Regions from separate parts of the Homo sapiens genome. Here regions 1, 2, 3, 4, 5 and 7 are each linked to region 6. Evidence: promoter capture Hi-C in 16 types of primary human blood cells and fetal thymus (Javierre and others, 2016). All regions are on one chromosome and are shown on one strand. Each heading gives the region's core, a stretch centred on a gene start or on the middle of the fragment in contact. The rest is flanking DNA. Distances are from core to core; before and after follow the strand shown.

Region 1 (2,700 bases), core at 109-2,608, 780 kb before region 6:
AGAAATTCAGTGTTTATCCTACAGACCTGTGGTTTTCCAACTATACTCAGTGGAGCTGTGAGTGCTCCTTGGAGTCCACACAGGGGCCATCCGGGGGTGGGCAGTGGGGCCAGGCGGGCAAGGCTCTGGGTCTCCCATTCCTGTTTCAACCTCACCAACTCTGCTTTTGCCTACTTAATGGTGGGCATCAGTGAAATACTTTTTCTTTTAAATAAAGGGTTTCATAGTTAGGGAAAGCTGAAAAATGATAGCTTAGGCAATGACCAACCCTTGAAGAATCTTAAGCAGGAAAGTGGCATGAGTTTCCCAGGTGGAAAGACTTGGAAACAGTGGCAAATGCTGAGGAGACGTCAGGAAAACAAGTACTGAAAGTGTGCTTTGGGTTTGGCCGTTGGAAAGTGACCTTCCTGAAACAGTTGGTAGGGAGCAGGGGTGTTGGAGAGAGTGGAGAACAGAATGCAGAGGATATTGGAATGAATGGGAGGAGAAACTGTGGAGTAGGGAGTGGAGACTGTGCTGTTAAAGAGTCTTAGATATAAAGCAACGGAAGGAGATTTGGCAATAGTCAGAGGGGAATTTTTCCAACTCACATGTCCCCCTTCTTGGCTAAGAGATTTCCCAACTACAAGGTCACAGGGGCAGACTCTCAGGAGCCATGTTTGTACACAGCTGCCTCCTTGACTGTAGTTGATTGGCCTCTGTGCGGGGTACAGCATCCAAGGTGGGCCAATACTTCCTCCAAGAAATTTAGATTTGGGGCCTAGAGAGAAAGCCCATCCTCTCCGGTTGGTTGGGTAGTGTTGGGAGCTGCTGCCTGGAGAGTCAGATGAAGTAAGCTGCAGATGTGGAAATGGGCAGACAGGAAGGAGCTGCCGGCTTTACAGGCCCTCGTTCTAAATCCTTCTCAAGTTTCAAGGAAAGCCAGCCATCTGGTTCTGGGTGAAACTAACCCATCATGAACCCTTTGTTTTCATTAACTCACATAGTTTCTCTTACAACAAAAATAATCCTTTCTGATACAGACGGTGTATGATTTTCTTCTCTTTCTTCCAAAGACAGAAGAATGGTCAGTTGAGAGTTTGAAGGTACAGAGAAGGAGGGGATAATTGATAGAGCCATTCTCCAAAGAGAACAGAAGGGGTGGATTCCCTAGAGCACAGATCAGGAGTGGCAGAAAGAGATGCCACCTTCCTCTGAGATAGGTGGGTAAGAAGTAAGAAAAGTGCGAACATAGATGAGTATGTGGGCTGGGGGTAGAAGAGTGTTCCTAATGACTCTTATTTTCTTTTTGAGGACCCAATGTTGTTTGCAAATCATGAGTGGGGTGGGGCACATTTGCTGGGAGGCTTGAGGAGAGCAGCAAGGTTTGAGAACAGCCATTGTGCCAGTGGGCCAGGGAACTGGTCACAGATAAATAATACAAAGACAGTTGAGATGAGGCGCGGTGGCTCACGCCTGTCATCCCAGCACTTTGGGAGGCCGAGGCAGGTGGATCACCTGAGGTCAGGCGTTTGAGACCAGCCTGGCCAACGTGGTGAAACCCCGTCTCTACTAAAAATAGAAAAATTAGCTGGGTGTGGTGGTGGGCACCTGTAATCCTAGCTACTCGGGAGGTTGAGGCATGAGAATCACTTGAACCTGGGAGGTGGAGGTTACAGTGAGCCAAGATTGCGCCACTGGACTCCAGCCTGGGCGACAAGAGCAAAACTCCATCTCAAAAAAAAAAAAAAAAGACAGTTGCAAATCCTAAGTATGTGGTGGTGAACACAGTGATGGAGACTCAGTGATAGAGTCTCATGTGCTGGTGAATGCAATGATAGAGTCTCCCTAAAAGCCTTCACCCATTTGCCTACTTATTCCCCCTTAAAATACAAATCAGGCCACGTACAGCAGCTCATACTTGTAATTACTTCGGGAGTCTGAGGCAGGGAGGATCACTTGAGCTCCGGAGTTCCAGATCAGCCCCAGGCAACACAGTGAGACCCACCTCTACAAAACGTACAAATATTAGCCAGGCGTGTGGCGTGCACCTGTACTTCCAACTACTCGGGAGGTTGAGGATGGAGGATCACTTGAGTCTGGGAGGTCGAGGCAGCAGTGACTTATGATCACACCAGTGCACTCCAGCACAAATCAGATGATACCATTCCTCTGTTTAGATTTTTCCAATGGCTTCCTGCTGCTTTACAATAGAAATTATTTCTAATCTTGCTCAGCAACTAGGAGAGGAGAAAGCAGAAGGAAAATGCTTGGATCAATCCCGAGCTGTGGGTATGAAACTGCCCTGAGGTGGAGGGAGAGACAGGGTGGTATACCAACAGCCTGGGAGAAAAAAGGAATACTGGCATGGGGGTGGGAGTGGGAACGTGAGTATGAAGTGAATATATGGGAATGAGACAACTAGAGACATCTATGCTGAGCTTGTGCATGGGATGTTCTGGGTGAGAAAATGGTATAAGATGAGAACATTTAAGGACTTTCTGAAGCAACATATTTTGAGATAAACTTTCTCCCCTTTCTATGAATAGCACTACCTATTACCCAGTCACCCAGATCTGCAACCTGGAGTCATCCGAGGAGTTGTCTTTATTTTTTCCTTCTCCCCACATTTGGTTGGCCATCAGATTCTTTCAATTTTTTAAATTAATTAATTAATTAATTTATTTATTTATTTTTTGAGATGGAGTCTTGCTCTGTCGC
Region 2 (2,700 bases), core at 50-2,549, 580 kb before region 6:
TGCCTGGGGTTGTGGTGTACCCCGGCCACTTCCCATCTCTGGGACTTTGCTCAGGGGCTTCTTCCCCGGATCACCCATTCCTCCCATCTTCATCTGATTAACTCGCCTTTCATGATGAAGCTCGGACGGTGCCAGTTATGTGGGGACCTACCTCTCACCTCCACCCTGGTGAGCCCCTTTCCCCTGGCTCCTGCCGAGCTGACACTGGCCCTTCTGCCAGCTGCTGGGGGATGAGCACTGTGTCTTATTTCATTCTGTGTCTCCAGGATGTAGTGGCGCAGGGCCTGGCATGGGTAAGACTGCATAGGCTCGCACACTGGAGGAGCTGGATGCCAACACGGTGGGCAGTGGGGTGTGAGTGCAGCCATGGAAGGCCGGGGTGGGATGGCTGGGCACCGATGCCCGTCAGATGTCCTGTGCACATGCTGCTCAGACTTGCGGGACATGGCGTCCTTGGCCGCTTACAGAGGCCTCAAGCTTGTAAAGAAAGCTTCCCGGTCCCTCTTGTCACGGGTTCTCCTGCAGAAAGTCATCCAGCCTGACACTAGCCATGAAGTGTCAGCGGTGTTTTGGGTTTTGGAACTGTCCCCCTTGCATTACCATGAAGAAATGCTGATGCTGGCCCTTGGGAGGTACAAGGGGCTTCACTTGTCTCCCTTACCTGAGAGCCCTGGGAAGGTTGCTTGGTCTGCCTAGAGCCCCGGCTGGCAGGCAGTGCCCTGGGCAAGCTCTTCAGCCTGCACCTGCCCCTGGGCGCTCACTTCAGCTGGAGTGTGGTGGACAGAGTCCTGCCCAGATGTTATTGATCCTGAGTTCTGGGTCTTCCTCTGACCCTGGCTTCTGTTAGCAAGGCCTTCTGATGTCTTTGCCTCAGTTTCTCATCATAAGAGGAGTGGGGACGCTCCGGCTCTGAGTAACAGTCTGTTCTCTTCCAGGCGTGTATAAACAGTGCTGGGGGCTTACAGAGCTCATGCCCTTTCCAGACCCCATCCTGAATGTGCGGGTGAGAAGTTGCGGGGTGTGAGGAGGCTGCTCTTCCCCTCTTTCTGGGATAATCCCTGGAATGACCCTAGGTGAGGCTTCCGTGCTGACTTCCCTTCCGTCCTCTGGGAGGTACTGGTTCGTTTCTCGGGCCCTGCCCTGTGCAGGGCCGCACCTCAGGCCTGCGCGGAGCATGAGGGCGAGGGACTTGGAATGACCAGAGCTGTCTCAGGTTTATCGTCACCGTCAATGAGCCACAGTTGCCACCATCGCAGGAGACCCTGGGTGGCAGGCACCATGCTGGATCCTGCTTTTCCTCCCTCATTTAACCTTGGAGCAGCCAGGCCTGTGAGGGGTAGCTAGTCTCCCCTAGGAAGAGGCTGCACAGATGAGCTTGCTCGGAGCCATGATTGGAGTCCGGCTTGCTGATTCTTCAGCACTCTGCCCGATGCCTGTTGATTTTGGCGGTTTGTTCTTGTCCCTCCAAAGCCAGGAATGCTCTGTGAGAGCTGGGGCCCCACCAGAAGGGTTCCCACGGTGCCCCTGTGCCTGCTGCTGGCTGGGTGGCCTCTTCCCCTGGTCAGCTGGGTGGCACAGAACAGGGGAATCCCAGGGCTGCCCGGGGTGGACCTTCCCTCCCTCCTCCAGGAGCTGCCCATAGAACAGCAGGGAGCCTCTTTCTAGGAGGTGGGATTTACAGGCTGAGATGTTGGAGCCCCACCTCCCTCATTTAGCTGCAGAAGAGGTCTGGGTTGGAGGGAGTCCAGACTCTGGTCCTGGAGTTGAGTCTATTCATGTTATCCATGAGAAAACGGGGGCCCAGAGAGGCCAAGCAACTTGCTCAGGGCCACACAGCTGCTCAGTGGACAAGGGAGACTGGGAGCAGCTCTCCTGTGCCCTCTCTGGTTCCCTGCACTCATGGTCTCCCTGCCTGCCTTCCCTTGTGTTCGGAAGCCAGTTCTACGCTGTGCTTGCTCTGTGCGCCGGTTTGTCTTCTGTTTTGGTTTCTAGCCTGACACAGCTTTTGGATCTCACCCACTTGTGACTCCCTGCAGTCGTCTGTGTTTTGTGGACAATGAAAGGCTTTGCTCCACGTCCACTGATCGGCTGCTCCAGAAGGAAGCTTTGCAGCCTCCTCAGCTGCAGGCCCAGAGTCATGGCTCCCTCCAACCCATTGCCTGGCCCTGCTCAGCCCACTTGGATGGAGCTGAGTCCCCAGCCCGACTGGGTCCTGCTGGGGGCTGAGCTCGTGGGTGCGAGCCGTGTGGGGTAGGGAACCCCGCTGCTGTCTCCCACCTGGCTCTGCACTCCTGCAGCCCCAGTCCTGCCGTGACTGTCACAGGGATCTCCAGGCCTGGTCGGCGGCTCCCTGTTGTGCGAGCATGGTACTCGGAAACCGCCTTTTCTGCTGGTTTAGTCCGACTGAAGCTCCTTGCTGAGGGACTGCATTCCCTCTGCAAACCTATGGCCTTATGGGTCTTTCTGATGCTGCTGTTATCCCCTGCTCTGTCCGCAGTGCTGGTGAATTTCCCAGCCTGGGGCAGTTGGGGACAGGGTCCGAGTCTGACTTCTTTCTCTTTCCTGTGCAGCGGGTGTGGGAATGGGCGTGTGTCTCTTGAATGAGTATGGTGTTGGCTACAGATGGGCCGCTTTAGATCCTGGCTCTACCTCATCTTTCTGGGAGGTGGGGGGTAGTTGTTTACATTCTCTGAACCACCT
Region 3 (2,771 bases), core at 10-2,509, 850 kb before region 6:
TTGTATTCATATAAATAGTCTGCCTTAACCTTTTTAAATGTTAGTTATGACTTATTAAGAATCATGATGGCCGGGTTTGGTGGCTTATGCCTGTAATCCCAGCACTTTGGGAGGCTGAGACAGGAGGATCTCTTGAGGCCAGGAGTTTGAGACCAGCCTGGCCAACATGGCGAAACCCCATCTCTACTAAAAATACAAAAATTAGCCAGGCATGGTGGTGGGCGCCTCTAATCCCAGCTACTCGGGAGGCTGGGGCACAAGAATTGCTTGAACCTGGGAGGTGGAGGTTGCAGTGAGCCGGTATCATGCCACTGCACTCCAGGCTGGGTGACAGAGTGAGACTTTGTCTTTAAAAAAATAAATAAGTACATAAATAATCATGATGCACAGTTTCAAAAACACTGGCTCATACTGAGAAAATAATAGAACAAATGCACAATATATTTTATATATATAGTCTTAAAAACATTGAAAATTGCTGATATACCTTCACAAAATAAAAACAAACCAAAAGAAACATTGAAAACATGAAGGAAATCAGAAATCTTTAACCAAAAATAGGGAATTAAATTATGACTCAACAACTTGTAACGATTTTAAAATTACATAAATCATTATGGCAGAATGTTTACTGTATGTTCATATACTTTATTGTCTAAACTGGGTAATTATTGCAGTTCTTTTTTTTTTTTTTTTTTTTTTTTGAGACAGAGTCCTGCTCTGTCGCCCAGGCTGGAGTGCAGTGGCGCGATCTTCGCTCACTGCAACCTCCACCTCCCAGGTTCAAGTGATTCTCCTGCCTCAGCCTCCTGAGTAGCTGGGATTACAGACGTGTGCCACCACGCCCAGCAAATTTTTTGTATTTTCAGTAGAGACGGGGTTTCACCATGTTAGCCAGGATGTTCTCAAACTCCTGACCTCATGATCCGCCCTCCTCGGCCTCCCAAAGTGCTGGGATTACAGGCGTGAGCACTGCGCCCGGACTTCAGTATAAGTTTTAAAAATATAAGTATAGATGTTGATAAAAGCTTAGGGAATTAAGAAAGTACTGGCCAGGTGCGGTGTCTTACACCTGTAATCCCAGTGCTTTGGGAGGCTGAGGCAGGTGGATCACTTGAGGTCAGGAGTTCAAGACCAGCCTGACCTACATGGTGAAACCCCGTCTCTAGTAAAAATCAAACAAAGAGAAAGTACTTTGGAGGCCAGGTGTGGTGGCACGCATCTGTAGTTCCAGTTACTTGGGAGGCTGAGGTAGGAGGACTGCTTGAGCCCAGAAGTTGGAAGCCAGCCTGGGCAACAGTGAGATCTCATCTCTAAAAATTAAAATTTAAAAAAAAGAAGAAAGTACTGTAAATACCCTTATTGAGAGATGTCTCTGCTTTTTAAAAAGTAAATAAATAAATTTTTGAGCTACGGTCTCACTTGTCAACCCAGGCTGGAGTGCAGTGGCATAGTCGCGGCTCACTGCAGTTTCAGCCTTCTAAGCTTAGCCAGTCCTCCCATCTCAGCCTTCCCAGTAGCTGGGACCACAGTCGTGTACTACCACACCCAGCTAATTTTTTGTAATTTTTTTGTAGAGATAGGTTCTTGCCATGTTGCCCAGGCTGGTCTTGAACTCCTGGGATTACAGGCATGAGCCCCAGCATCTGGCCTCTGTGCATTTTTGACATTGAAATATTTTGATGAAATTTTTAATAAAACAATGGTGAAGCCAGGCGCAGTGGCTCATGCCTGTAATCCCAGCACTTTTGGAGGCCAAGGCAGGCGGATCACCTGAGGTCAGGAGTTGGAGACCAACCTGGCCAACATGATGAAACCCCGTCTCTACTAAAACTACCAAAATTAGCCAGGAGTGGTAGCACATGCCTGTGATCCCAACTACTCGGGAGACTGAGGCAGGAGAATCGCTTAAACCTAGGAGGCTAAGGTTGCCGTGAGCCAAGATTGCACATTGCACTCCAGCCTGGGCAATTAGAGTGAAACTCCATCTTGAAAAAAAGAAAAAATAAAACAACGGTGAATAATTTTAATGCTGTTCATTGGTAAAATAGCTGGCAATTTTATATTGGCCCCCCCTTTTCTGTTGTTTTTTTTTTTTTTTAATTTTCTGATCTAAGGAAGTTAAAAACCTTAAAATTATGTATTCATAAATAGTTGCTCTAGTGTGATCAGTTGTGTTGCTGCCAGCTTTATGTTTCTATGGTGAAGACTAAAATGAAATATTTTGGAGTCACTTCACCATTACTTTATAATACGTTTTTCTTAAAATTACTCTGAAAATGAGGTTACGTTTTTAGCCAACAATGTCTTAAATCATGGCAGTTTCTTAACAGGTAAGAATTGTTTTAAAGGATTTTTTCTTAATTATAAAAATAGAAAATAATAAAATATTAAAACTACTTCATTGTTCCTTGACTCAGAATTAAACACTGTTAATTGCTGAGTCTTATTTTTCTCTCTGTGTGTGTATGTGACAGGCATTGTACATAGTAAATATAGTATATGGTGTTGTAACTCGCTCTTTTGTCACCATTTAACTCTTTCTGGATAATTTTCCCATAGCTTTAATCTTTCTTCACAAATATAATTTCTAATGGCTGGATATATTCTTGTTCTTCCATTGAGATGAATGCCAGATAGTAAATATTTTAAATTTTGCAGGGCCCAGTGGTCTCTATTACGAACTACTCAACTCTGCCATTGAACACAAAAGCAGCCTTAAGCATGACAAAAACAAATGAGCATCACTGTTTCAATAAAATTTTATTTAT
Region 4 (2,700 bases), core at 5-2,504, 610 kb before region 6:
TTACGTTTAGCAAGAATGAATGAAGAGATGCGGGAATCAGAAGGACTTTATGGACAGCCAGGTCAATATTCTACTAATAACCATACTGAAATGCAGTATAAGAAATGCATTCAGGAATTTATCAGTTTACAACTGGAAGATTCATAGTTCTTTAGCAAACTAATGTGATACTATAGAGTTTTTATAACCCACTTGTAAATTGTGAGTTGTTAGCTTTGTACTGTACTTAACTGAATCCTTGGGTGGCTAATCCCGGGCCTTTAAACATTCGTAACTCTTCCTATGACAGTACACATTGACTTGCTCTATTTCACTCTGGCTGCTGACTTCTTTATTTGCTGTACGGATGTCTTCCATATACATTCCAGTGAAATGAATGGAATGGTAAAAATATTCTTCATATACTTACAGCAGCAAAATAGTTGTTTTCTTTTTGGAATTCTTTTTAGCTGTCAAGTGAATATAACAAAATTGTTTTCTTTTTGTTATTCAGGGAATTTCTATAAATTACGTTCAGGGAAAAAAAAAATCACCATGTGTCTGGCATATAAAAAGCCAGTATGGAAAATACCAAGAAAAAGTTTACTGATGAGTTTTGTACTACAATCTAAAAATGAGTTGAAGATTTAAAATGAAAATTCACCAGGTGGAGAAGTCCATGATGTGAGTGGAGCTAGTTTGAAAGGCTGAGGGCAAAGGTCTCATTTTATCTAAAGCTAAAGCTTTGCCTCCAGGCAGTTGTACATTATCTCTTAGATAAGCGGAAGTATTTAGAACAATACTTTTTGCACCTGATGGCAAAGTAGATTTATTCTACTTGAGAAATTTCAATTCATGATCACCTCAAGTTTCATTTTGAGTAATTTTCACCTTTGAATCAAGATGTCAAGGAAGAAGTATCAGATTCTTCTCTTTGAAGAACACGTTGATTAGACGTTCTTCACAAAGAAGAGAGTAATTATTGGTTTTCTTGTTTCATGAATTTGAGTATATGAATTACTCATCTGTCTGTTTTAAATTTATATACACATTAGTAAAAAATTTCATGAATTCGTGACTAAAATACTTGAGAATATTCAGTTTGCAATGAGTAGGTTTGGTTTTTTAAAAATGAATATTGATACATTATTTTTAAAGTGACCTGGTAATATCATCTCTTCTTCCTGTTTAAATACATTTTGAAATTTCTGTACTTCAGCCATTTATTTTAACGAGATTAATATATAGTTAATGTGAGGCCGTTCTTTCCTCAGAGGACCGTATTTACTACTGCTTATTTTTGGCCTAATTTAATGTGGAACAAGTAAGAACGTTAAGAATAGAGGCACTTCAGCTAGATATTTCTAATCTAGGGTGTCCCACTTGAATCCTATGGATCATACAATAGTAGGCGGCTCATGATGTTCCGAGATGGAAGAGTGCTGATGAAGGGTGAAGCTCTAGCGTTCATTCTGGATTTCACCCATTTGTTTCAAACTTGAATGTTAGATTTTAAATAGGTTATAATTTTATAACAGATATTCTTAACTGATAGTATTACTAGGCCGTTTTTGAGGCCTTTGTGTTTAAGCACTTTAAAATAAAAATTGTTTAAAGAATATGACCTGATATTTGTAAGAGAAGAGTGAACCTCACGATTTTAAGTTAAACAATTATTTTCCCCCTGACATTTTTAACTTCAGTGTTTGGTTAGCTGCTCTTTCCTTACGGTGTCTGCTGATGAAGTTCACCCAGCTGATTAGCCAGGTGGTCAGTGGTCGACTCTTCTCTGGAGTTGGGAAGCTTGAAAGGAAAGGGCCTCTAAGTTCTTGCCACTTCTAGTTCCACCCAAATTGTTTGGGTGTCTGCCACCATCATTTAGGAGCATTCAAATGTCTTCCACTGTCATTTTTGAGTTTATATATACATAAACTTAAAATGTATAGAAAAGATTTTACCAATTTAATTTAATGAAAACTTGAAAAAAAAAGCCTCATTTTAAAACAAGCTCTCTTACCATTCTCACATTTTAGTTTAGAGGTTAAAAAATAGACCAGAATTCTGGAAATAGTATATCAGAATAAAATTGAGATATTTCTGATTTATTTGAGGATCATCTTGAGAAGGGTTAGATTTTTAACTCATTCAGAGGGCCTAATATTTAAAGCAGGATGATTTTATGCTTAGACAGGGGACATGGTGAAATGGCATAGCAATTGCTCTTCGGTTTCTGTTCTTTTTCTTTATGAGACAGGTATGTTTGGCTCAGGCAGCGGCTGTTTGTTTTTCCTCTGCTTATCACTGTACATTTTTCTATCAAATGCTTTGGTTGCTTGTTTTATTGAGATCCTTTTTTGGTTTTCTTAGCAATAGAATGAAAACCTCAGAACTCTGGGTAAATTAAATGCAGGTATTTTTAATCTTTTGATAATGAAGAGCTCTTATCCTTTAAAAGATTCAGATGTAATCTTTGGCAATCACTGATTTATTTCTAGGAAACCCCACTTGTGAACTTTCTATCTGTACAACCCTAGGGACCTGGGACTCCCTGTTTCTTGCGTGGGGTGATTGAGAGCACACGTTTTCTTCAAAAGAAGGTGTGTCTCTCTTTGGCAGTCCCAGTAGCCCTTAGGAGACATGGGTGGGTGAGGGAAACAGCACACTCTTCTCTCAGTTGTTGGAAACCGGTTTGGTGGTTCCCACAGTCTCTGGCTCTGTGAC
Region 5 (2,700 bases), core at 180-2,679, 880 kb before region 6:
ATCCTGATTTGTACCAAACATTACAGGTGACTGCAAGCAAGTTGTCTCAAGCATTTACAGCTGGGATCCACCCAGAAACGATCATCGTTAAGAGTCTCCACGTGTCAGCTCAGCGTCTCATCCACAGCAGCGCCCCCAGCTGCCTGCTGATGGCTCCATCCCCAACTCAGTCTTCGTGGCTCCGCATCCATCGTAGTACAAACACTATGCCTTTGGAGAGGACTGCCTTAGAGTCCACAGCTAACGTCTATAGAAATCTAGCAATTCTATCAAGAAAAAGCAAAATTAAAATGCCAAAAATCAGGCAAAAAGAAAAGAAAAAAGCACAGGATACTCCCAATAGGTGCCAAAAGAGAAATGATTTAGGTACAGTGTGTTGGGGAGAACTGACCTGGAGCCTGCTGGAGTTGCTCAGAGTCTACAGGGAAAGATAAACAAGAAAACCAGCCATGTAGATGTGGAGATCAAATAAGACGAGAGGCTGTAATAGAGGGTAGAATGAGGGATTCTGGGAGAACAGAGGAGGGCCACCTGATGCTGCCCTGAAGAGGTGGAGAAGGCTTCATTCCAGAGCAAATCCTGAGCTGCGTTTGGAATAAACGAGCTGGAGGTAGTCAAAAATTGAAGGGGGAGGCCGGGCGCGGTGACTGATACCTGTAATCCCAGCACTTCGGGAGGCTGACGCGGGCAGATCACGAGGTCAGGAGTTTGCGACCAGCCTGGCCAACATGGTGAAACCCCGTCTCTACTAAAAATACAAAAATTAGCCGGGCATGGTGGTGTGCACCTATAATCCCAGCTACTCGGGAGGCTGAGGCAGAAGAATCGCTGGAACCCAGGAGGTGGAGGTTGCAGTGAGCTAAGATCGCGCCACTGCACTCCAGCCTGAGCGACAAAGCGAGACTCCATCTCAAAAAAAAAAAGAAAGAAAGAAAAGAAATAGAAGGGGGAGGAGGTGGTATCCCAGGCAGAGGAAAGACTGCCACCAAGTAGGAACTCAATTCTGTAGCACCTAGGGTCCGGGACCCTGCAGAGGAGAAGTAGAACAGGTGGCCAAAGGCCAGATCACTGACAGCTTTGTAAACCATGACATGGAGCTCAGATTACAATCTGAAGGTGAATTGATTCAAGGACTCAATTCTAGGAAACAATTTAACTTACATCTTAAAAATGAAATCCAAATACCAACTTGTTAATTCACGGTAGGAAAAAAGTCACTAAAGAACAAATCGAGGCTGGAGTTCTCTAAAAGCAAATGCTCTGTCTTCAGGTTGGCTACAGAGAATGCCAGGATCTGATGAGGAAGGGGCTGGTAAAGCCCAGGCAGCTGACTAAAGCAGAGTCATTCATGACGCTATGGGGATCCACCTACCTCCTGCCCTGGGAGGGGTACCGTCCGCAGCACTGAGTGATGGCTCTAGCAGCAGAGGGGAATGGAGAGGGGATGCACGGGCCTGACAGCAGGAGGACCTGTGAGATGGCCAGTGCTCCACTGTGTCATGACGAGGGCCTGAACTAGAAAGTGGAAGTAGAAAGGCGAAGGCAGATTTAGGAGATTTTTATTTTCTTCTTATTATTAGAGTTATAATCCAATCTTTATTTAAAAATCTAATCTGCCAGTTTAGTGTTTTCCACCAACTCGGGGAGCTGAAACTTCCACAGGCTTCACAATCTTTTGCTCAGGTGCTGCCTTTGTAGGTGCCGTAGCAGCAGCCCTTGCAGTCTTTTTAGATGCTTGCTTAGCCATTTTTTGCTTCCTTAGCAGCCCTGATAGCTTGTTCTCTTTGAGCCTTTCTAACTTCGGGTTTCTGATTCCTCTTGGCCATTATAGCAGCAAGAGATACACCGTAATGGTCTTCTGGAATTTGACTGCTCGGTGGGTTCTTTTCTTTTGAATTTACTCCGACTGCCCCTTTTTGTGCTTCCTTCTGTAGAGGACAGTCCAGTTTATCTGCGGAGGATTCCTCTTGGAAAGGAACGCCAACTTGCATTTTGAATTAAGAAACTGGAAAACCCTCCCGTCGGTCCTGGCGTGGCGCCTCCCGTGTCCGGGGTAGATCTTGTACCTGCTGAAACTGCACAGGTCAACCTTCATGGCAGCGGCTCCACGGGAAGAGAAATGATGGCAAAGAGAACTATTATTATTATTTTTTGAGATGGTGTTTAGTTTTGCTCTTGTCGCCCAGGCTGGAGTACTGAGGTGTGATCTCGGCTCACTGCAACCTCCACCGCCAGGTTCAAGAGATCCTCCCTACCTCAGCCTCTGGAGTAGCTGGGATTACAGGCACCCACCACCAGGCCAAGCTAACTTTTGATTTTGTTGTTGGTTTTGTTTGTTTGTTTGTTTGTTTGTTTTATGAGATGGAGTCTTGCTCTGTTGCCAGGCTGGAGTGCAGTGGCGCGATCTCGGCTCACTGCAACCTCCGCCTCCCAGGTTCAAGCGATTCTTCTGCCTCAGCCTCCAGAGTAGCTGAGACTACAGGTGTGCACCACCACACCCAGCTAATTTTTGCATTTTTTTTTTAGTAGGGATGGAGTTTCACCATGTTGGCCAGGATGGTCTCGATCTCTTGACCTCATGCTCCACCCGCCTCAGCCTCCCAAAGTGCTAGGATTACAGGCGTGAGCCACCACGCCCAGCCTAATTTTTGTATTTTTAGTAGAGATGGGGTTTCACCATGTAGGCCAGGCTGGTCTCGA
Region 6 (2,754 bases), core at 202-2,701:
ATTTATTTCTTTTTGGCTGTTGTTTTAATTGACAACTAAAAATTGTTTATTACTTACGTTGTACCGCATAATGTTTTGATATATGTGTACATTGTGGAATGGCTAAATCAAGCTATGCTAGGTAATATATGCATTACCTCGATCCTATGATTTAAAAATACATGTTTGGCCAGGCGCAGTGGCTCATACCTGTAATCCTAGCACTTTGGGAGGCCGAGGCGGGCGATCACCTGAGGTCAGGAGTTCGAGACCAGCCTGGCCAAAATAGTCAAACCCTGTCTCTACTAAAAATACAAAAATTAGCTGGGTGCGGTGGCACGTGTCTGTAATTCCCGCTACTCGGGAGGCTAAGGCAGGAGAATCACTTGAACCCGGGAAGCAGAGGTTGCAGTGAGCCGAGATCATGCCTTTGCACTCCACCTGGGGGACAGCGAGACTCTGTCTCAAAAGATAAAAATAAATAAATAATACATGTTAACAACCCTCATTCCCCACTCTCCCCAGGGGTGTACAGGCTAGTGACAAGACTTGGGTTTATTCCTGACACTGCACGCACTCAATCTACGACTTGCTCAAGCTGCTTCCTCTCTCCAAGCATCAAAACAAAGAGATGGTTCTCTGGATCAATGAGAATGTAGTTCACCAGCCACTCTAAGCTGACTTTCTATTATTCCCATTATAGGGAAATCAAACATTCAAGTGAGGAACAAAAGCCCAGGCCTCTAGGAGTGGAGCTGGCTCACTGTTTTCACTTTCATTTTAATTATTTTTAAAAAGGGTAATGAAAATATAATTAGAACTGTTTAAACATTTTTTTTTTCTTTGAAATAAAGCGTAAGTCACTTCCTGTTGGCTTTTCCTACAACCTTGCCAAGCTCTGGAAATACTATTCAGCCTCTCATTCCAAATTCACATCCAGGCGAAGACTTTTCTCCCCAGTTCGCAGCTGGGGTCGGCTAGATAAACAAAAAGTTAGTTGCTGTGCTGGACCTCGGAGAGACCACACCTCGGGACGCCAGCAGAAAACCAGCGCTGGGAAACGCCCCCGTCCCAGCGCCACCGAAACACTCTTCCTCCGAGTCTCCGCGTCCTCCTGACGGAAGCAGCGGAAGGCGGAGCTAGTGCCGCGAATAGGAACCGCCATGTTTCCGACGTGCTCTAGTTTCTCGCCGGACGCTAAAGACCGACGCACAAATTAAGAATGGACCATTCTTTTAACTCAGTCATTTATCCAAACTCGAGACATTCGCCAGGAAATCTATCGAAAATTTCCCAGAACCATTTTTTCACTTATATTCTATAATACTGGTAAAATCGAGACGTAAAAGGAGAACTTGAGAACAAGTCATTCTGCTTTCCCCTCTCAAGTTTGAGCCTGAACTACTTGGGCTCGCTTATCGTCACTTCCGGGGATCGAACTGTGAATCCCGGAAACTGCACGCGCCGAGCCGGGAAGCTTCGTCCAGCGGTCGTGTTGCCATGGGCCGGAGGAGAGCCCCGGCCGGTGGGTCGCTGGGACGGGCCCTTATGCGCCATCAGACTCAGCGGAGCCGAAGCCATCGTCACACTGACTCCTGGGTAAGACAGACCATGTCATCTTTCTTATCTTTTCTGTCTAGCCTGAGTGCTGCAAAATTCGGGGTCAAAAGTCAGATAAGTTTTGCAGGAGGGACGCCTCAGCCGGGTTTTGAAGGATGAGTTGGAGTTTCTGCCAAGCTGAGTAGCAGGCCCTCCTCCTGGCAAGGCCCAGAACACAAAGGTAGGAGAAGCTTGAAAGAAGAGTTAGTGTGGTGATGAGGCGTGGAGTGAGAATCTGAAGAGTCTTCAATGCCAGGTCTTGAGTACGTTTGGGTTTTGCCCTAGAAGCCACTGAAGTGCTTGGAACTTCCAGAGCAGGAAAAAGACAAAACGTATTTTTGTATTGATTTGTTCAAAGAATGGATCCTCCAGAAGCGGTTGGTTACTGCCAGAAATATAAAATAATTCAGATCCTTGCCTCATCCTTGCGAAGCACCCCCTAGTGGTTTAGCTCAAAGATAAATCATTGATTTTTCAGGTGTGACAAGACCTAATATTTTACTAGGTTATAGAAGGATCTTTAAAAAAATGAATGAAGTGATTTGGCTTGTGTTCATCATTCTAGTCGTTATTTTCACCATTCATTCCCCCGGGAATGAATGAGAACATGTTGAGTGCTAAGATCGTGTGCTAAATTTAGTTAAATATGTCCCTGGAGCTAAGTAAGCGTGTGCCACTGTCACACCAGCTGACTTTCATCCATATAGTCTGCAGAGTAAACAGCATGGAGTGCTTATCAGTATTCATCAGGTCAGAGTTACTCTGGACATTAGATTACTGGTAATTTTTATTAGCTTTGAAGCAACTTGTTACTAATGAAGCCTTTTAGGAAACTGTGGGAAGATTGAACATGAATGGTAAAGAATTGGATCCTAATTCCTTATTTTTGCTGATTCTATGCCCACTTAAACTTTTGGCCCTTAATATTTATTTAGGAAATTCATTCATCATTCAGTTATTCATTTTTAGAGACAGGGTCACACTCTGTCACCCAGGCTAGAGTGCCAGTGGTGTGATCATAACTCACCAATTCACTACAGTCTCAAACTTCTGGGCACAAATAATCCCCCTGCCTCAGTCTCTTGAGTAGCTGGCATTACAGGTGCACACCATCAGGCCTGGTTGTTTGGTTTTGTTTGTTTGTTTTGGAGAGACAGGGTCTTGCTGTGTTGCCCA
Region 7 (2,818 bases), core at 252-2,751, 630 kb before region 6:
CTTTTTTCGTGGAATCAGTGTTAGAGCTGTGGATCTTAACCATCATTGCATACTATGATGTCACCACACAGGGAGCTTGAAAAACCCCCATTGCTTAGGTACCACCCCAGAACACTTGAATGGAGTTGGGCATCAGTACTTTCACAAGCTTCCTGGGTTAGTTCCATAAACAACCAATGTTGAGAGCTATTGCGTTAGAGGCTTCCTTTGGCTATCTCATCATAAGTGTTAGGCACTAAAAACTTCTTTGGAAACTCTGAGCACAAAATTAGGACTTTGTTGACTGTGGCCTTTGTCTAAGTCTGGACCATTTGTTGAGGAACAACCATCGTCAGGGTCTTTTTGAGTCTTTTCGGCTGATGTGATTTCCCAGAGAAGACTCATTGATCTCCTGCATAGCTATGAGGGATTGGTGGGGAGCTAAGCACTGGGTATCTTAGCATATTGTATGTATATGTTCATTTAATCCTCTGGCTTCCACCTTTCAGGTGAAGTCGATTCAGAGACTCTGTTTTAATCCTCCAGAGAATAACTTCCAGTCATTGTGTTTGTGTAGAGAGCAGTCATCCCCTAGTGGCATGGAGATGGGGGGCAGCGACAGTAGGATTGAACTGTCCTGCTTAAACAATCATTCCTCCTATTAATACTTTCGTGAATTGGTGTCATATTCAGTGCTGTGTTCCTTGAAGTGGCTGACCCAAGTTTTGCTGTGTTTGTGTACTTAGTTCTCTAATTTGGTGCAAAAACATTAGCATATAGAGAAAACTTGGGAATGAACCAACATGATTTCTGTAATATAATATTGATATTCTTTCCTTACATAATTGCTAATTCCCATTATCGAACATATTCTGGTAAAACAAATATTTCTTTCTTAAAATTTCGGAATAATCCTAAACTTACAGGGAAGTTTTTTTTTTTTTTTTTTTTTTTTTTTTTTTTGAGATGGAGTCTCACTCCATTGCCCAGGCTGGTGTGCAGGGGCACGGTCTCAGCTCACTGCAACTTCCACCTCCCAGGTTCAAGCGATTCTGCTGCCTCAGCCTCCCTAGTAGCTAGGATTACAGGCATGTACCACCATGCCCGGCTAATTTTTTTTTGTATTTTTAGTAGAGACAGGGTTTCACCATATTGGCCAGGCTGCTCTCGAACTCCTGACCTTGTGATCCACTCACCTCGGCTTCCCAAAGTGCTGAGATTACAGGCATGAGCTACTTTGCCTGACCTGAAATGTTTTTAAACCAGAAGACTTTTTATAGACCATATCTGTCATTGTTTAGGATCTAAGTACCACATCTTTGTATTCGGTCATTATGGCCATGTAGCAGGATGGCGGGGAGACAGAGTCTTGCCCTGTTTCCCAGGCTGGAATGCAGTGGTGTGATCATAGTTCACTGCAGCCTTGACCTCCTGGGCTCAAGCAGTCCTCCTACCTCAGTCTCCTGAGTAGCTGGGACCACAGGTGCTTACCACCATGTCTAGCTTATTTGTTTGTATGTATGTATGTATTTATGTACATATGATGGAGTCTCACTCTGTCACCCAGGCTGGAGTACGGTGTCATGATCTTGGCTCACTGCAACCTCTGCCTCCTGGGTTTAAGTGATTCTCATGCCTCAGCCTTCTGAGTAGCTGGGACCACAGGTGTGCACCACCATGCCTAGCTAATTTGTATGTATGTATGTATTTATGTACATATGATGGAGTCTCACTCTGTCACCCAGGCTGGAGTGCGGTGGCATGATCTTGGCTTACTACAATAGCCCCCTCCCGGGTTTAAGCAATTCTCATGCCTCAGCCTTCTGAGTAGCTGGGACCACAGGTGTGCATCACCATGCCTAGCTAATTTGTATGTTTGTATGTATGTATGTATTTACGCTCATATGACGGAGTCTCACTCTGTCACCCAGGTTGGAGTCTCACTCTTGTCAACATGATCTTGGCTCACTGCAACCTCCGTTTCCTGGGTTTAAGCTATTCTCATGTCTCAGCCTCCTGAGTAGCTGGGATCACAGGTGTGCGCCACCACGCCCAGCTAATTTTTTTGTATTTTTAGTAGAGACAGGGTTTCACTGTGTTGGCCAGGCTGGTCTTGAACTCCTGGCCTAAAGTGATCCACCCGCCTCAGCCTCCCAAAGTGTTGGGATTACAGACATGAGCCATTGTGCCCAGACATATTCTTTTTTAGAGACAGGCTCTTGCTCTGTTGCCCAGGCTGATCTTGAACACCTGGACCCAAGTGGTCCTCCCGCTTCAGCTTCCTAAAGTGCTGGGATTACAGGGGTGACACCGCTCTCGGCCAAAAAATTAACTTTTTGTTAATCAGCCATCTTTTGCTTTTCTTCTCTTTTACCTAATATCCCTTGAAGTTTTAAACATTGTATGTTCTATATTTGATTCACTCTGTAGTTATAATTTTGTAGTTGATCTCTTCTTTACTATTTATATAAGCTCATACCTTTCCTAGTTACTCACTGCAGTAATTAACTTGCCTTATCCCTGAGAGGTCTGAAAAAAAAAACAATGACTAGCTTAAAGTTTATTGAACGCCTTGGAAAAGTGTGGTATAAAACAATAATATTTATTTCATTCTTGAGTTTGAATAATCCCTTACCTATTTCCTCTGTCTCCACCCTGCATGTTAGACTAGTGTTCCCTTTCTGTCTTCATCTTTTGTACATATGTTCATTGTGTCATTTATTATATATAATTTTAAATGTTTACACGTTTCTCCCCACTGGAATAAAAGCTCACTGATGGAAGAACCTACATCTTTTTATCCTTGAATTTCTAGCTAGACTATTGCCTTGCTTATGCC

Evidence for each region. Contacts are between HindIII fragments. The CHiCAGO score rates a contact against its expected background, and 5 or more counts as called.
Region 1: a fragment that was not itself captured here is called in contact with the fragment with the promoter of LSG1 in region 6 in 1 of 17 cell types (naive CD8 T cells); the score reaches 8.0 in naive CD8 T cells.
Region 2: a fragment that was not itself captured here is called in contact with the fragment with the promoter of LSG1 in region 6 in 17 of 17 cell types (naive CD8 T cells, naive B cells, total CD8 T cells and 14 more); the score reaches 35.2 in naive CD8 T cells.
Region 3: a contact is called between a fragment that was not itself captured here and the fragment with the promoter of LSG1 in region 6, in 10 of 17 cell types (fetal thymus, naive B cells, naive CD8 T cells and 7 more). The highest score is 11.8, in fetal thymus.
Region 4: a contact is called between a fragment that was not itself captured here and the fragment with the promoter of LSG1 in region 6, in 5 of 17 cell types (total CD8 T cells, naive CD8 T cells, M1 macrophages and 2 more). The highest score is 8.6, in total CD8 T cells.
Region 5: a contact is called between a fragment that was not itself captured here and the fragment with the promoter of LSG1 in region 6, in 7 of 17 cell types (fetal thymus, naive CD4 T cells, non-activated CD4 T cells and 4 more). The highest score is 15.1, in fetal thymus.
Region 7: a contact is called between a fragment that was not itself captured here and the fragment with the promoter of LSG1 in region 6, in 1 of 17 cell types (naive CD8 T cells). The highest score is 5.9, in naive CD8 T cells.

What each region holds. Positions count from the first base shown.
Region 1 is chr3:195,448,969-195,451,668 of GRCh38, reverse strand. No RefSeq gene overlaps it. Among named protein-coding and RNA genes, the nearest start is that of ACAP2, 7.3 kb to the right of the region's middle. The HindIII fragment of the contact is 8,844 bases long and covers 1-2,700 here.
Region 2 is chr3:195,254,878-195,257,577 of GRCh38, reverse strand. All of the region lies in intron 1 of XXYLT1 (xyloside xylosyltransferase 1), which reads left to right. Among named protein-coding and RNA genes, the nearest start is that of XXYLT1, 15 kb to the left of the region's middle. RefSeq lists a silencer at 1,305-1,479. The HindIII fragment of the contact is 1,614 bases long and covers 493-2,106 here.
Region 3 is chr3:195,519,248-195,522,018 of GRCh38, reverse strand. All of the region lies in intron 4 of PPP1R2 (protein phosphatase 1 regulatory inhibitor subunit 2), which reads left to right. Among named protein-coding and RNA genes, the nearest start is that of PPP1R2, 23 kb to the left of the region's middle. The HindIII fragment of the contact is 457 bases long and covers 1,031-1,487 here.
Region 4 is chr3:195,283,157-195,285,856 of GRCh38, reverse strand. It overlaps ACAP2 (ArfGAP with coiled-coil, ankyrin repeat and PH domains 2), which reads left to right. Exons shown (of 23, transcript NM_012287.6): 22 at 1-61. Among named protein-coding and RNA genes, the nearest start is that of XXYLT1, 13 kb to the right of the region's middle. The HindIII fragment of the contact is 1,060 bases long and covers 725-1,784 here.
Region 5 is chr3:195,554,005-195,556,704 of GRCh38, reverse strand. It overlaps the pseudogene RN7SL73P and the pseudogene RPL24P6. Among named protein-coding and RNA genes, the nearest start is that of PPP1R2, 12 kb to the right of the region's middle. The HindIII fragment of the contact is 9,159 bases long and covers 1-2,700 here.
Region 6 is chr3:194,670,888-194,673,641 of GRCh38, reverse strand. It overlaps LSG1 (large 60S subunit nuclear export GTPase 1), which reads left to right and starts at 1,451. Exons shown (of 14, transcript NM_018385.3): 1 at 1,451-1,578. The coding sequence starts at 1,480. The HindIII fragment of the contact is 1,582 bases long and covers 1-1,458 here.
Region 7 is chr3:195,302,288-195,305,105 of GRCh38, reverse strand. The region is part of intron 13 of ACAP2 (ArfGAP with coiled-coil, ankyrin repeat and PH domains 2); the gene reads left to right. Among named protein-coding and RNA genes, the nearest start is that of XXYLT1, 33 kb to the right of the region's middle. The HindIII fragment of the contact is 2,701 bases long and covers 151-2,818 here.